Linked DNA regions of Homo sapiens: region 2 is linked to region 1. The links are contacts of gene promoters, found by promoter capture Hi-C in blood cells and fetal thymus (Javierre and others, 2016). All regions are on one chromosome and are shown on one strand. The core of a region is centred on a gene start or on the middle of the fragment in contact, and the rest is flanking DNA. Distances in the headings are between cores, read along the strand shown.

Evidence for each region. The method cuts DNA at HindIII sites, captures the fragments that hold promoters and counts their contacts. A CHiCAGO score of 5 or more calls a contact.
Region 2: a contact is called between a fragment that was not itself captured here and the fragment with the promoter of SRPX2 in region 1, in 1 of 17 cell types (M2 macrophages). The highest score is 5.8, in M2 macrophages.

What each region holds. Positions count from the first base shown.
Region 1 is chrX:100,640,275-100,647,557 of GRCh38, forward strand. It overlaps SRPX2 (sushi repeat containing protein X-linked 2), which reads left to right and starts at 3,925. Exons shown (of 11, transcript NM_014467.3): 1 at 3,925-4,241; 2 at 5,919-6,130. The coding sequence starts at 6,049. RefSeq lists an enhancer at 6,918-7,212. The HindIII fragment of the contact is 8,191 bases long and covers 1-7,124 here.
Region 2 is chrX:100,770,219-100,777,501 of GRCh38, forward strand. No RefSeq gene overlaps it. Among named protein-coding and RNA genes, the nearest start is that of SYTL4, 42 kb to the left of the region's middle. The HindIII fragment of the contact is 8,719 bases long and covers 1-7,283 here.

The sequences.
Region 1 (7,283 bases), core at 2,675-5,174:
TCAGGAACCACTAAAATAATAACAACAACAATAATAATAATAATAAACTGTATCGCTGAGTGTACATCTTATCTCTTATTCACATAATAACTTTACCATTTTCATTTTCTAATCCCTTTTCTAGCATCCCTTCAATTACCTTTGGCTAAGTGCCTATCATAGAATTTAAAGGCGCATCCTACTTATTTTCTTAATATCTCATATTTTATGTTACAGCCATCAGATACCTCATTATTTAAACAGTTAATTCATATGTACAGTTTTAAAAATCCATTTCGTTAATGGAATATCTCTTTATTTCTATTGTCTCTTGTGCATTCCCATTCTCCTTCTCTGAAATTCTATTCTTTGTCTATTTTTATGCCCTTGTTTTCCATCCACTCCTTTCAGATGCTCTGTGAAACCTTTCCTCCCTTTCCATCCCTGATCTTGCCTTCTTCAAAAAAGCTCATAATATACAGTTTGGGACACATAGACATGATAAATACTTTTTTTTTTTTTGAGACGGAGTCTCGCTCTGTCGCCCAGGCTGGAGTGCAGTGGTGCCATCTCGGCTCACTGCAAGCTCCACCTCCCGGGTTCATGCCATTCTCTGGTCTCAGCTTCCCGAGTAGCTGGGACTACAGGTGCCCGATACCACGCCCGGCTAATTTTTTGTATTTTTAGTAGAGACGGGGTTTCACCGTGTTAGACAGGATGGTCTCGATCTCCTGACCTTGTGATTCGCCTGCCTCGGCCTCCCAAAGTGCTGGGATTACAGGCGTGAGCCTCCGCGCCCAGCCATAAATACTTTTAAATGGTATTAAAATTGACAATTCTATGTCCATTTTCTAAGAAAGTTGTTTCTAGTCTAGCCTTGTTGAGCTTTCCTGAGATCTCAACTAGGGAAGTCAGTTTCCATATCTAATATTTCGTAAAACAATACCTTATTTACTGCTGAGGGGCTTCATATTAAAAGTCTTAAAGTTGAAAATGGTACTGAACTTTAAGAAACTTAAGAAATTGAGTATGCCTGGATGCTGTCAGTCTCCTTATCCACCTTTGTCTTATCCTCCCAACCAAACCATAAAGAGAGGTGTTTTATTTTACTTTGTAGCCTCACAGTATCTAACGTTGTGTTTTACACACTGAGTATGTGCTGCAGAAACATTGGGGTTATTATAATTAACCTCACTTGTTTTGGGTGAGCTCTTTATATTATTAATCCCAATGCTTTGCAAGAATGCTGTCTCTCTCTTCTGACATATCCCCTTACTTTGATCTCCCTATGATTTCCATATTCTCCCCCTTCACTTTCTTCTTTAACCTCTCTCTGGAACCCTTCTGTCCCACTGCTTCCAGCTTTCAGTGGGATTGAGGCCTTACGCAGCATCTTCACCCTGGCATGTGCTAGGCTTTGTGTTGGATGGCTGGGGATATGAAGAAGACTAGGATAAGGTTCTTGCCCTTATAAGCACTCATAGTCTAGTAGGAGTCAGAGATAAGTAAAGAACAATGCCAATAAGTGTGAAAAGTCCTAAAATTGAGATATGTACAAAGTGCTGTGAGAGAAAAGGAAGGCAAAGTTAACCATCTTGGGCTGGGATGGGCTGGGGGAAGGTTCCTAGCAGCAAGGGTGGGTAGAGTTCCAACAAGCCAAGAAAGGAGGGAAGGGACCATGGAGCAGAGTGAACACGTCTGTGCAGAGGCTCCAGGGTGTGAAAGGAAGAACAAGAAGCTCAAGGAAGAGCATGAGGCAGAGGGTGTCCAGAATGAGGAGGCATGGGGTGAATGCTTAAAACTAGGCTAAGGACATAGGTGGGGTTTGCTTGTGAAGAACATGGTATGCAATGCTAAGGAACTCAGACCGTACACTATGCCAAGAGGGAGCCAGTGAGGGGGGTCTAAGAAAGAAAAAACTCTGGTAGAATGTATTACTTTGCTTGTTCCCTCTCTCTCTCATATTCCTCTCTCTCTCTCTCTCTCTCTCTCTCTCTCACACACACACACACACACACACACTCTCACATACTCAAACACACAGACACACACATTTAATATATTCACTATTTTCTCACACACGAGTTTAAAATAAACTCCTATATCTGATTTTCTGGCCCTACCCTATTTATTCAGCTTTGTTTTCTATCTTTCCCTGAAACCTCTTAGCAGTTAGCCTCTCCCTCCTCTGACCTAAAGGTGAACTCTTGTTGATGGCATTTCCTTTGCCTGAGGCTAGACCAAGGCCCACCTCTTCTCAGGTGACCCCCTCCTCTGACTTCCTCCTAGCGTCCTTAAAGTCTGTAACACAGCTTTTGGCAGTCTATTACGGTAGGGAGTTGTATTGTTTTCTAATTGATTGTGTCCCTCTTCTCTCCCCTACTAAACATAAACTCTGGGAGCTGGAGAGTAAGCTCCATAAGATCAAGAATCACACATTACTTGCTCACCACTGTATCTGCAGTGCTTAGCTTATAGTAGATGACCAGTAAAGATTCCCTAAACACACACAATTGTAATTAAGAACATGCTTGTTTGATGTCTGTCTCCTCTGTTCCATGAGGGCAGGGATTTTTGTCCATTTTGTTCACTGATGTTTCTCAAATACCTAGAACCATATGTGGCACATAATGGATGCTCAACAAGTATTTGTTGAATTAATTATGGATTACAATGCCTGGGATTTTGTCTGTCTTGTTCACCACTACATCCACCACTCTTGACATGGTAGATACTTGATAAATTTATGGAATGAATAAGGCCATGACGATCACGTCTTCTTCTTCTTCTTTTTTTTCTTCTGAGACGGAGTCTCACTCCCTCGCCCAGGCTGGAGTGCAGTGGCGTGATCTCAGCTCACTGCAACCTCTGCCTCCTGGGTTCAAGCAATTCTCCTGCCTCAACCTCCTGGGTAGCTAGGATTACAGGCGTGCACCACCACGCCCGGCTAATTTTTTTTTGTATTTAGTAGAAACGGGGTTTCACCATGTTGGCCAGGCCGATCTCGAACTCCTGACCTCGTGATCTGCCCACCTCGGCCTCCCAAAGTACTGGGATTATAGGCGTGAGTCGCCGCGCCCAGCCACATCTTCTTTACGTAGCTATTACACTGTTAAGCAAATGGTAGACACTCAATACATATTTGTCACAGGTGAATTGGAAATGAAGCAGGCTCAGGCTTGCTTTTGAACTTTGTATTCTCATAAGTACAATTCTTCCCCTTATGACTGAGAAGGGGTTACCAATTTGCTTGCATACACAGGAGAAACACCCTTTCTACAACAGCTTAAAATTCTTCCTTCTATAACCACTGATTTTCCAAGAGATGGAAATGTCAACCGTGAGGGGAGGGAGATTGTAAGTAGCTGCTCTGTGCTATGGCAGAATAGTCTCATTATCAGATACTAAAATGAAAAAATCTTGCTGAGTGAAATGTAGCCCTCCATCAGAGACCACTGGGAAGCAGCTAGATTTGCTCAAACAGCCTCCCAGTAAAGCCTCTCCAGGCATGCTTTCCCTCCATTCTTAGTGTGGGAAATCAGTCTTGATCCTTCGGGCAAGAAGTACATGTTTTTTGTTTTTTGTTTTTTGTGTTTTTTTTGTAAACAATATAATCTTAACAGAAACTGAAGTCCAGAGAAGTTAGGTCACTGGCATGAGGGTTTCAAAGCGTATCTGACGTGATACCATATAGATTGCAAGACAGTTCAGAGTTGGGAGTCTAAGGAATTACAGGAGAAATCTTAGGGAATGTCAAAGTCAGCTACAGTCTTCCCCTCTCTTTGGTGTTTGTGAGTGTTTATGAAATTCCTTTTCATTCAATTCTTATGTCATGCTGAGTCATAAAAAGAAGTGTTCTTCAGTGCAACACATCTCTGGAGGCCGCTTAAGCCAGCCTCTGTGTTAGTCATCACTATATTCACAGGCTTGGAGCCAGTGCCATTCACACTTCCCCCTCTTCTGCAGCAGACGGACTGAGTTCCTCTAATCCCTGTGTTCCTTCTCCCCCATCTTTCTAAAACCCTTCTCTGAGAGAGGAATAACTATAGCTTCAGGGATAATATAGCTTTAAGGAAACTTTTGGCAGATGTGGACGTCGTAACATCTGGGCAGTGTTAACAGAATCCCGGAGGCCGGGACAGACCAGGAGCCACTCGTTCTAGGAATGTTAAAGTAGAAGGTTTTTTCCAATTGATGAGAGGAGCAGAGAGGAAGGAGAAAGAGGAGGAGAGAGAAAAAGGGCACAAAATACCATAAAACAGGTAAGATCTGCAACTAACCCCTCCACACTCCACTACCCCAATTCACAATTGTGAAGGGGATAAGGAGACCCAGAACTTGGGCAACATGGCTGGGGGTGGAGGTCGGGGGGAAGTTCTTTTATGAAGCTGGATCATATGCTGCTTTTCATTTGTGCCGTGACCTGACTGCAAACACATGTTCCCAGCAACTTCTCAGCCCACAGCAGAGGGATGGGATGGTTGACTCTGGTGAGTCAAGTATTAAGCCTGAGATTGGGGAGAAGCTGGGCAGGTACGAGGTCACAGGTTCAGGGATCTGAAAAAGGAATGCCTCTGCTCCAGAACGAAGGAACTGGATGGAGGCTAGATGTGGGAGAGGGGTCAGTGATTAGTTATCTAATGTTCACTTCCTGGACCTCTCTTTAATCTCCTCTTTCTGCTCCTTTTGTTGCCTCTTTCTGCGTTTATCTATCTCTTTCCTTCAGCTCTGTCAGATTTTCTTTCCTTCCTTCCCACATCTTTCTACTTCCCTTGCCTCCTTCGTTTACTCTCACTTTTTCTCCGTCCTGCTTCCCTGTCACTTTCTAGACAAAATCTGAAGCCAAGTAGCAATGAACTAAAAAATACACTTTTCCCTTTCTTGGGCTTTGCATGTCCCTTAGGGACTCTGGCCAGAATCTACCACATTTTTGTTTCTCTATTTCTAGGACTGACTCCTCCCCTGAGCATGGCATTTCATTGAAAGCCCGTGAGTGAATGGGTGCTTGCTGAAATGCCCAGTGGCCAATTTATACCAATGGGCAGCAAGTTTTAATACTGTCATTTACAAAGTATTTGCCCGCTGGGAACCACAAAACTCTCGTCCCATTAGGGTGAGGACAGGGGAGGAAGTGAGAGGGCAATTGGAGCTTGTTCACCCTCTCCTCATGTACCTCAGCAGGTCCTCCTCTACCTCGCTGACTTCCTGCTGGCTCAGCAAGGTAAAACTAGAGGGTTAGGCTGGACTTGAAAGCCAGAAGCCACTACCAAACCACCAAGCCTTAAAACCCAAAGCTAAGAACAGAGCCAGAGTCCAGTTACTGCCTGGGACACTAGAGAAGGGAAACATTCAGTCCTGTCCAATACAAAGTTGGTAATAATATTGTCTAATATATAAATTACTTCCCTATATGACAGACAATAATCAATTCATGAGGTAGACAGTATTATTATTCCCATTTTATAGATGAGGAAACCGAGGCTTAGAGAAGTTAAAAAATTTGTCCAAGACCCTATAGCTAATAGGTGACAGAATTGGATTCACATCCAGACCTGTGTAACTTCAGTGTTCAAATTCTTAGACCACATATGCTAACGCTTTCCCAGATTAGTGGCTAGGAAATGTTAGTTGAATGAATGAAACCTAATGGCAGCCTTTAGGTCACCAGGTTCCCTCCTGGTTCTGTGTAACTTCATGTTGGCCTTTTCCTGGTCTCAGTACTTCAATGTCCCTCTCTATAACTTGGACCATGAAGCATTTGCATCTGATCCCACCAGAGTCAGATGAAGATTGGTTGTTTTACATCCTCCTCCTCCTGGGAGGAAAAGGGACCATAAATAACAAACAGAGTCTTGTTATTCTATAACATGAAAGATCCTTATGAGGGAGATAATATAAAAGGCATTCATTAATTATAAAATCTCTCTTCTTCCTCACAGATCCCATATTTCTGCTTCCCCTCACTTTTAGAAGTTAATTGATGGCTGACTTCTGAAAGTCACTTTCCTTTGCCCTGGTACTTCAGGCCATATACATCTTTTCTTGTCTCCATAATCCTCCCTTTCAAGGATGGCCAGTCAGCTAACTCAAAGAGGAGCTCTCTTTCTGCTGTTCTTCCTAACTCCGGCAGTGACACCAACATGGTATGCAGGTAAGTTCTAGGAGCTGTTGCCTATTATTTCCAGGAAGGATAGGTCCTAGACCAAGACTTGGAGAAGGAAGAGTTAGACTACAAAAAGAGACACTTATTTTCTATACAGAGAAGTATTAAAGGACAATAAAGATGGTTAAACATGGCAACAGACTACCAAGGGAGGCTTTTAAGGCAGCCTAACAAGAGCTATTTGAAATAGGTGAAATAGGCCACACTAGTACAAACATGAGAAGGTTGGACATCACCTTTGAGGCCATTGTCTCACCTGCTTGTGCACTTAGCTTCCTGAAAACCATTTTCTAACATGAAATCCTTTATGAGTCAAATCTTTATTAATATTAATTCTTTTATGAGTCAAATACTCTTGTCAAGACCACAAAAATGGACTTAGACCACATACCTCATTTGGAAAAAATAAGGGGGGCAGGCAATCTATTCAAGTGAAATGAGAATCCATCAGACTTCTTCCCACCCTCTCTGATCTTATTTATAAAATGAGATTTTTTATAGCCCTTTTATGCCAAAGCTGTTAGTGGCAATACAGATCACATCCTTTTAATCAGGAATTTCCCAGTTTCTTCTCATTTGTTCTTTACTTCAGAAGGGATGGAGATTTCTGGATTCCTGAATATTTCACTCTTCACCCAGAGAGCCAGAGAACAAACTCAGTGAGAAGAGGGAAAGGGGAGGGGGAAGGGATGAGGGCAGGATAATGAAGTGGCATACAGAGGTTTTATATGGGGCCCAGCTGGCATTCCAAGTGCTAAGAATATTCTGTGGCCTGCAGTGTCTGCCCTCACAGGGGCCCGTGGGGAGTAGTGGGGGAAGGAGACAGACCCAACCAATGGGGTTAGGAAAATATCCAGAGATGAGTAAATAACAAACTGCTCCCATCACAGCCACAGTCCCTGCAGCTAAAATTTTCCACATGCCCTTAGCTCCTGGTGGAGGCCTTTGGCAGTAGCTCTGTTTGTCTGGAACAGCTGCATCAAGCTTTCAAACAAATATGCAAACTTCTTCCCCTTTTTGGCTTAACCTGGCTTTGTAGGGGGTGAAGCACAAGGACTGACATTGAGATGAAAAAATTCAAGTCAAGCCCTTGGCAGAGCATATCCTGTTTGGGGTTAAAGGTGCCTCAAGTCTCCAGGAG
Region 2 (7,283 bases), core at 1,692-4,191, 130 kb after region 1:
GAAAGATTGCAAACATTTTCTCCCATTCTGTAGGCTGCCTGTTCACTCTGATGATAGTTTCTTTTCTGTGCAGAAGCTCTTTAGTTAGATTCCATTTGTCAATTTTGGCTTTTGTTGCCATTGCTTTTGGTGTTTTAGTCATGAAGTTTTTGCCCATGCCTATGTCCTGAATGGTATTGCCTAGGTTTTCTTCTAGGGTTTTTATGGTTTTGGGTTTTAAATTTAAGTCTTTCATCCACCTTGAGTTAATTTTTGTATAAGGTGTAAGGAAGGGGTCCAGTTTGTTTTCAGCATATGGCTAGCCAGTTTTCCCAGCACCATTTATTAAATAGGGAATCATTTCCCCATTGCTTGTTTTTGTCAGGTTTGTCAAAATCAGATGGTTGTAGATGTGTGGTGTTACTTCTGGGGCCTCTGTTCTGTTCCATTGGTCTATATATCTATTTTGGTACCACTACCATGCTGTTTTGGTTACTGTACCCTTGTATTATAGTTTGAAGTCAGGCAGTGTGATGCCTCCAGCTTTGTTCTTTTTGCTTGTCTTTGCTATACGGGCTCTTTTTTGGTTCCATATGAAATTTAAAGTAATTTTTTCTAATTCTGCGAAGAAAGTCAATGGTAGCTTGATGAGAATATCATTGAATGTATAAATTACTTTGGGCAGTGTGGCCATTTTTACGATATTTATTCTTCCTACCCATGACCATGGAATGTTTTTCCATTTGTTTGTGTCCTCCCTTATTTCCTTGAGCAGTGGTTTGTAGTTCTCCTTGAAGAGGTCCTTCATGTCCCCTGTAAGTTGTATTCCTAGCTATTTTATTCTCTTTGTAGCAATTGTGAATGGGAATTCACTCATGATTTGGCTCTCTGCTTGTCTATTATTGGTGTTTAGGAATGCTTGTGATCTTTGCACATCAATTTTGTATCTTGAGAATTTGCTGAAGTTGCTTATTAGCTTAAGGAGTTTTGGGGCTGAGATTATGGGGTTTTCTAAGTACACAACCATGTCATCTGCAAATAGAGACAATTTGACTTCCTCTCTTCCTATTTGAATATCCTTTATTTCTCTCTCTTGCCTGATTGCCCTGGCCAGAACGTCAAATACTACGTTGAATAGGAGTGGTGAGAGAGGGCATCCTTGTCTTCTGCCGGTTTTTAAAGGGAATGCTTCCAGCTGTTGCCCATTCAGTATGTTATTGGCTATGGGTTTGTCATAAATAGCTCTTATTATTTTGAGATATTTTATATATTATTTGAGATATTTTGAATCCTACTGAATTCATTTATCGGTTCTAAGAGTGTTTTGGACGAGTCTTTGGGGTTTTCAAAATATAAGATCATGTTATCTGCAAACAGGGACAATTTGACTTCCTCCTTTCCAATTTGGATGCCCTTTATTTCTTTCTCCTGCCTAATTGCTCTGGCTAAGACTTCCAGCACTATGTTGAATAAAAGTGGTGAAACTAGGCTTCCTTGTCTTTGTCCAGATCTTAAAAAAAAATGCTTTCAACTTTTCCTTATTCAGTTTGATGTTAGCTGTGGGTTCATCATATATGGTCTTTATTGTTTTGAGGTATGTTTTTCTCTATACCTAATTTGTTGATAGTTTTTACCATGAAGAGATGTTGAATTTTATTAAATGTTTTTCTGCATGTGTTGAGATGATTACATGGTTTTTGTCCTTCATTCTGTTGATATGATATATCACATTTATTGATTTGCATATGTTCAACCAGCCTTCCATTCCTGGGATAAATTCTGCTTGATCATGTTGTATAATCTTTTTGATGTGCTGTGGAATGTGGTTTACTAACATTTTGTTGAGCATTTCTCATCTATGTTCATCAGGGCTATTTGCCTGTAGTTTTCTTTTTTTGTTGTTGTGTCCTTGTCTAGTTTTGGTATCAGAGTAATGCTGGCTCTGTAGAATGAGTAGAAAGAATTCCTTCCTCTTCCATTGTTTGGAATAGTTTGAGGATAAATTATGTTTGTTCTTCTTTAAAACTTTGGTATAACTCAGCAGTGAAGCCATCCAGTCCTAGACTTTTCTTTATTGGGAGACTTTGTATTACTGATTCAGTCTAATTACTTGTTATCAGCCTGTTCATGTTTTCTATTTTTTTCAATCTTGGTGGGTTATATGTGACCAGGAATTAATCCATTTTCTCTAGGTTTTCCAATTTGTTAGTGTATTGTTGTTCATAATATTCTCTAATGATAATTCATATTTCTGTTTTATCACTTGTAATGTCTTCTTTTTTATTTCTGATTTTATTTCTTTGGGTCTTCTCTTTTTCTTTCTTAGTTTAACTAGTAGTTTTTTTTTTAATTTTATCTTTTCATAAAACCAACCTTTTGTTTTCTTGATCTTTTGTATTGTTTTTCTAGTCTCTATTTTGTTTATTTCTGCTCTGACATTTCTTATTCATTTCCTTCTACTAATTTTGGGTTTGGCTTGTTCTTGTTTTTCTAGTTCCCTGAAGTGCATCATTAGGTTGTTTATTTGAAATCTTCTACTTCTTTGACATAGGCATTTATTACTACAAACTTCCTTCTTAGTACTGCTTTTTCTGTATCCCATAGGTTTGGTATGGTGGGTTTCCATTTTCATTTCTTTCAAGAAATTTTAAAAATTTTCTTCTTAATTTCTCCCTTTAGCCATTGGTTGTCCAAAGGCATGTTTAATTTCCATGTATTTGTACAGTTTCCAAAGTTCCTCTTGTTATTGATTCCTAGTTTTATTCTACTATGGTCAGAAAGGATAATTGATATGATTTCAATGTTTTAAATTTTTTGAGACTTGTTTTATGACCTAGCCCATATGGTCCAACCTGAAGAATATTCTATGTGCTGATGACAAGAATGTGTATTTTGAAATTGTTTGATGAAATGCTCTGTAAATGTCAGTTAGGTCCACCTGGTCTAGAGTGTAGTTTAGCTCTGATTTTTTTGCTGATGTTTCTGTCTGGACAATCTGTCCATTGCTGAAAGTGGTCTGTTAAAAGTCCGCTAGTATTATTATATTGTAGTCTATCTCTACCTTTAGATCCATCAATATTTGCTATACATATTTGGGTGTTCAGGTGTTAGGTGCATATATATTTACAATTGTTATATACTCTTGCTGAATTGACCTATTTATCTTCATACGATGACTTTGTCTCTTTTTGCTGTTTTTGACTTAAAGTCTGTTTTATCTGATATAAATATAGCTACTCCTGCTCTCTTTTAATTTACATTTGCAGGAAGTATCCTCTTTTCATCCCTTCACTTTCAGTCTATGTGTGTCCTTACATATGAGGTGAGCCTCTTGTTGGACACATATATACAGGTCTTGTTTTTTTATCATCCAGTCATTGTATGTCTTTTAATTGAAGAATTTAATTCGTATACATTCAAGATTATTATTGATAGGTATGAACTTACTCTTGCCATTTTGTTCATTGTTTTCTAGAGGTTTTTTTTTTCAACTTTTTAGAGTCGGGGTACATGTACATATTTGTTACAAATGTATATTGCATGATGCTGAGGTTTGGGGTATGACTGAACCTATCACCCAGGTAGTGAGCATAGTACCCAATAGGTAGTTTTTCAGCCCTTTCCCCTCCTCCACCTGCTAGTAGTCACTAGTTTTGTTGCCATCTTTATGACCATGAGTAACTGATGTTTAGCTCCCGCTTGTAAGTGAGAACATGCAGTGTACGGTTTTCTGTTTCTGCATTAGTTCCCTTAGGATAATGGCCTCCAGCTGCATCCACGTTGCTGCAAAGGACATGATTTCATTTTTCCTTATGGCTGCATAGTATTCCATGGTGTCTGCATACCACATTTTCTTTATCCAGTCCACTGTTGATGGGTACCTGGGTTGATTCCATGTTTTTGCTATTATGAATAGCACTGTGATGAACATATGGATGCACGTGTCATCTTGGTAGAACAATTTATTTTTGTTTGGGTGTATACCGAGTAATGGGATTGCTGGGTCGAATGGTAGTTCAACTCTTAGTTCTTTGAGAAATCTCCAAACTGCTCTCCACAGTGTCTGGACTAATTTTTACATTTCCACCAGCCATATACAGGTGTCCCCTTTTTGCTGCAGCCTCACCAATATCTGTTTTTGTCTTCTACTTTTTAACAAAAGCCATTCTTACTGGTGTGAGATGGTATTTCCTTGTGGTTTTGACTTGCATTTCTCTGATGATTAGAGATTATGAGCATTTTTCATGTTTGTGGGTCACTTGTATGTCTTCTTTTGAGAAGTGTCTGTTCATGTCCTTTGCCCACTTTTCAATGAGGTTATTTGCTTTTTGCTTGTTGATTTAAGTTCCCTATAGATTCTGGATATTTCTAGTTGTTTTATAGATCTTTTGCTCCCTTCCTTTTCCCTTGCTTTCTTTCTTAGTTGTTTGATGGCTTTCTGTAGTGGTATACCTTGGGTCTTTTCTTTTTCTCTTTTGTATTTGTATTGTAGGCTTTTGCTTTGTGGTTACCCTGAGGTTTACACAAAACATCTTATACAGCCAGGCACAGTGGTGCATGCCTGTAATTCTAGCTACTTGGGAGGCTGAGACAGGAGGATCACTTGACCCCAGGAGTTCAAGGCTATAGTACACCATGATCATGCCTCTGAATAGCCACTGCACTCCAGCCTGGGCAACATAGTAAGACCCCATCTCTTAAAAATTTTTTTTTAATTAGCTGGCCATCAAATGCCCATCAATCAACAAGTGGATAAAGAAATTGTGGTGTGTGTGTATATATATATATGTATACACAATATATATATACACATATATATACATGTATATGATGGAATACTACTCAGCCATAAAAAGGAATGAACTAATAGCATTCACAGCAACCTGGATGGGATTGCAGACTATTATTCTAAGTGAAGCAACTCAACAATGGAAAACCAAACATCATATGTTCTTACTTATAAGTGGGAGCTAAGCTATGAGGATGCAAAGGCAGAAGAATGATACAATGGACTTTGGGGACTCAGGGGAAAAGGGTGAGAAGGGGGTGAGGGATAAAAGGCTACAATTGGGTTCAGTGTATACTGCTCAGGTAAAATGGGTACACCAAAATCTCACAAATCACCACTAAAGAACTTACTCATGTAACCAAATAGCACCTGTTCCCCAAAAACCTATGGAAATGAAAAATATAAAATTTTTAAAGTTAAAAATAAATAAATAAAATAAAAATTAGCTGGGCATGATGGCACACACCTGTGGTCCCAGCTACTTGAAAGGCTGAAGTGGGAGGATCACTTGAGCCCAGGAGTTCAAGCCAGCAGTGAGCCATGATCATGCCGCTGCACTCCAGCCTGGGTGATAAAGCAAGACCCAGTCTCAAAAATTAAATTAAATTAAAATTTAAAAAATAAAAACATCTTATACTCATAACAGATTAATTTATCCAATAATAACTTAATTTTGATTGCATACACAATACCTCCACTTTTACTCCACCTCCTCCCATGTTTTGTTTTTGATGTTACACTTTTATATCATCTTATAACATGTATCCCTTAGCAAATTATTGTAGCTTTAGTTGTTTTTAATGGTTTTCCCTTTTGAACTTTATACTAGAAATATAATTGATTTACCTACTGCTGTTACAGTATTAGAGGGTTTTGTATTTGTCAATGTACTTACTTTTACCAGTGAGTTTTATACTTTCATATGATTTAGTTACTAATTAGCATCCTCTTCCTTCAGGTGAAGAAGTTCATTTAGTTTTTGTAATGCAGGTCTAATGGTAATAAAGTCTCCCAACTTTTGTTTTTCTGAGAAAGTCTTAATCACCCCTTCATTTTTTGAAAGACAGTGTTGCTGCGTATAGTTTTCTTGATTGGTGGTCTTTTTCTTTCAGGGTTTTGTCTATATCATCCCACTCTCTTATAGCTTGCAAGGTTTCTGCTGAGAAGTCTATTTATATTCTTATGGAGGTTCCCCTATGATAATTTGCTTTTCCCTTGCTGCTTTCAATACTCTCTCAGTCTTTTAACTTTTAACAATTTGACTATGATGTGTCCTGGTGTGGATCTCCTTAGGTTCATCTTATTTGGTGTGCTATGGACTTCCTGGATCTGGCTTTCCAATTTCTTCCTGGACTTGGGAAGTTTTCTACCATTATTTCTTTGTATATGTTTTCTCTCCCTTTCTCTCTTTTTTCTACTTCTGGCTCTGACTCTGGCTATCAATTATGTGTAAGTTATTTTGCTTGATGGTATCCCATACGTCACTTAAGTTATCTTCACTCTTTGTCATTTTTTTCTTTTTGTTCCTCAGATTGAATGATTTCCAGTGTTCCGTCTCCAAGTTCACTGATTCTTTTGACTGCTTGATCTATTCTGTTGTTGAATCCCACTACTGAATTTTTCAGTTCAGTTATAATATTCTTCTGATCTATGATTTCCATTTGGTTCTTTGTAATACTTTCTATCTCTTTAAGTTATCATCTTGTTCTTCCATTGCTGCCCTGACCCCTGTTAGCATCTTTATGACCACTATTCTGAATTCCCTGTTGGGTAAATTATGAAACTCCACTACCTTTGGGTCAGTTTCTGGAGATTTATCTTGTTCTTTTATTTGGAATATAATCCTGTTTCTTCATTTTTCTTGATTCTTTGTGTTGGTTTCTGCACATTAGATAAAATATCTACTTCTCTCCATCTTGTTTGACTAGCCTTGTATAGAAGAAGGTTTTCACCAATCCATGTGGCCAGAGGTTTTAAGCTGCCTCTCTAATCTTTGTGTTTGTCCAGACTGCCATCTCTGTTTTGGATGGATTTCAGGAGCTTAGAATGTGTCACATCTTGTCAGTACCTTGAGACCAGCAAGGTTCTTTAAATATAGCTGGTAAGGTTGGGGTATTGGGCTAGTAGTGGGATTGCTGGATCAAATGGTAGTTCTACTTTTAGTTCTTTAAGGAATCTCCACACTGTTTTCCATAGCAGCTGTACTAGTTTACATTCCCACCAGCAGTGTAGAAGCATTCCCTGATCACCGCATCCATGCGAACATCTACTGTTTATTGATGTTTTGATTATGGCCATTCTTGAAGGACTAAGGTGGTATCACATTGTGGTTTTGATTTACATTTCCCTGATTATTAGTGATGTTGAGCATTTTTTCATATGTTTGTTGGCCATTTGTATATCTTCTTTTGAGGCTTGTCTATTCATCTCTTTAGTCCACTTTTTGATGGGATCGTTATTTTTTTCTTATTGATTTGTTTGAGTTGGTTGTAGATTCTGGATATTAGTCCTTTGT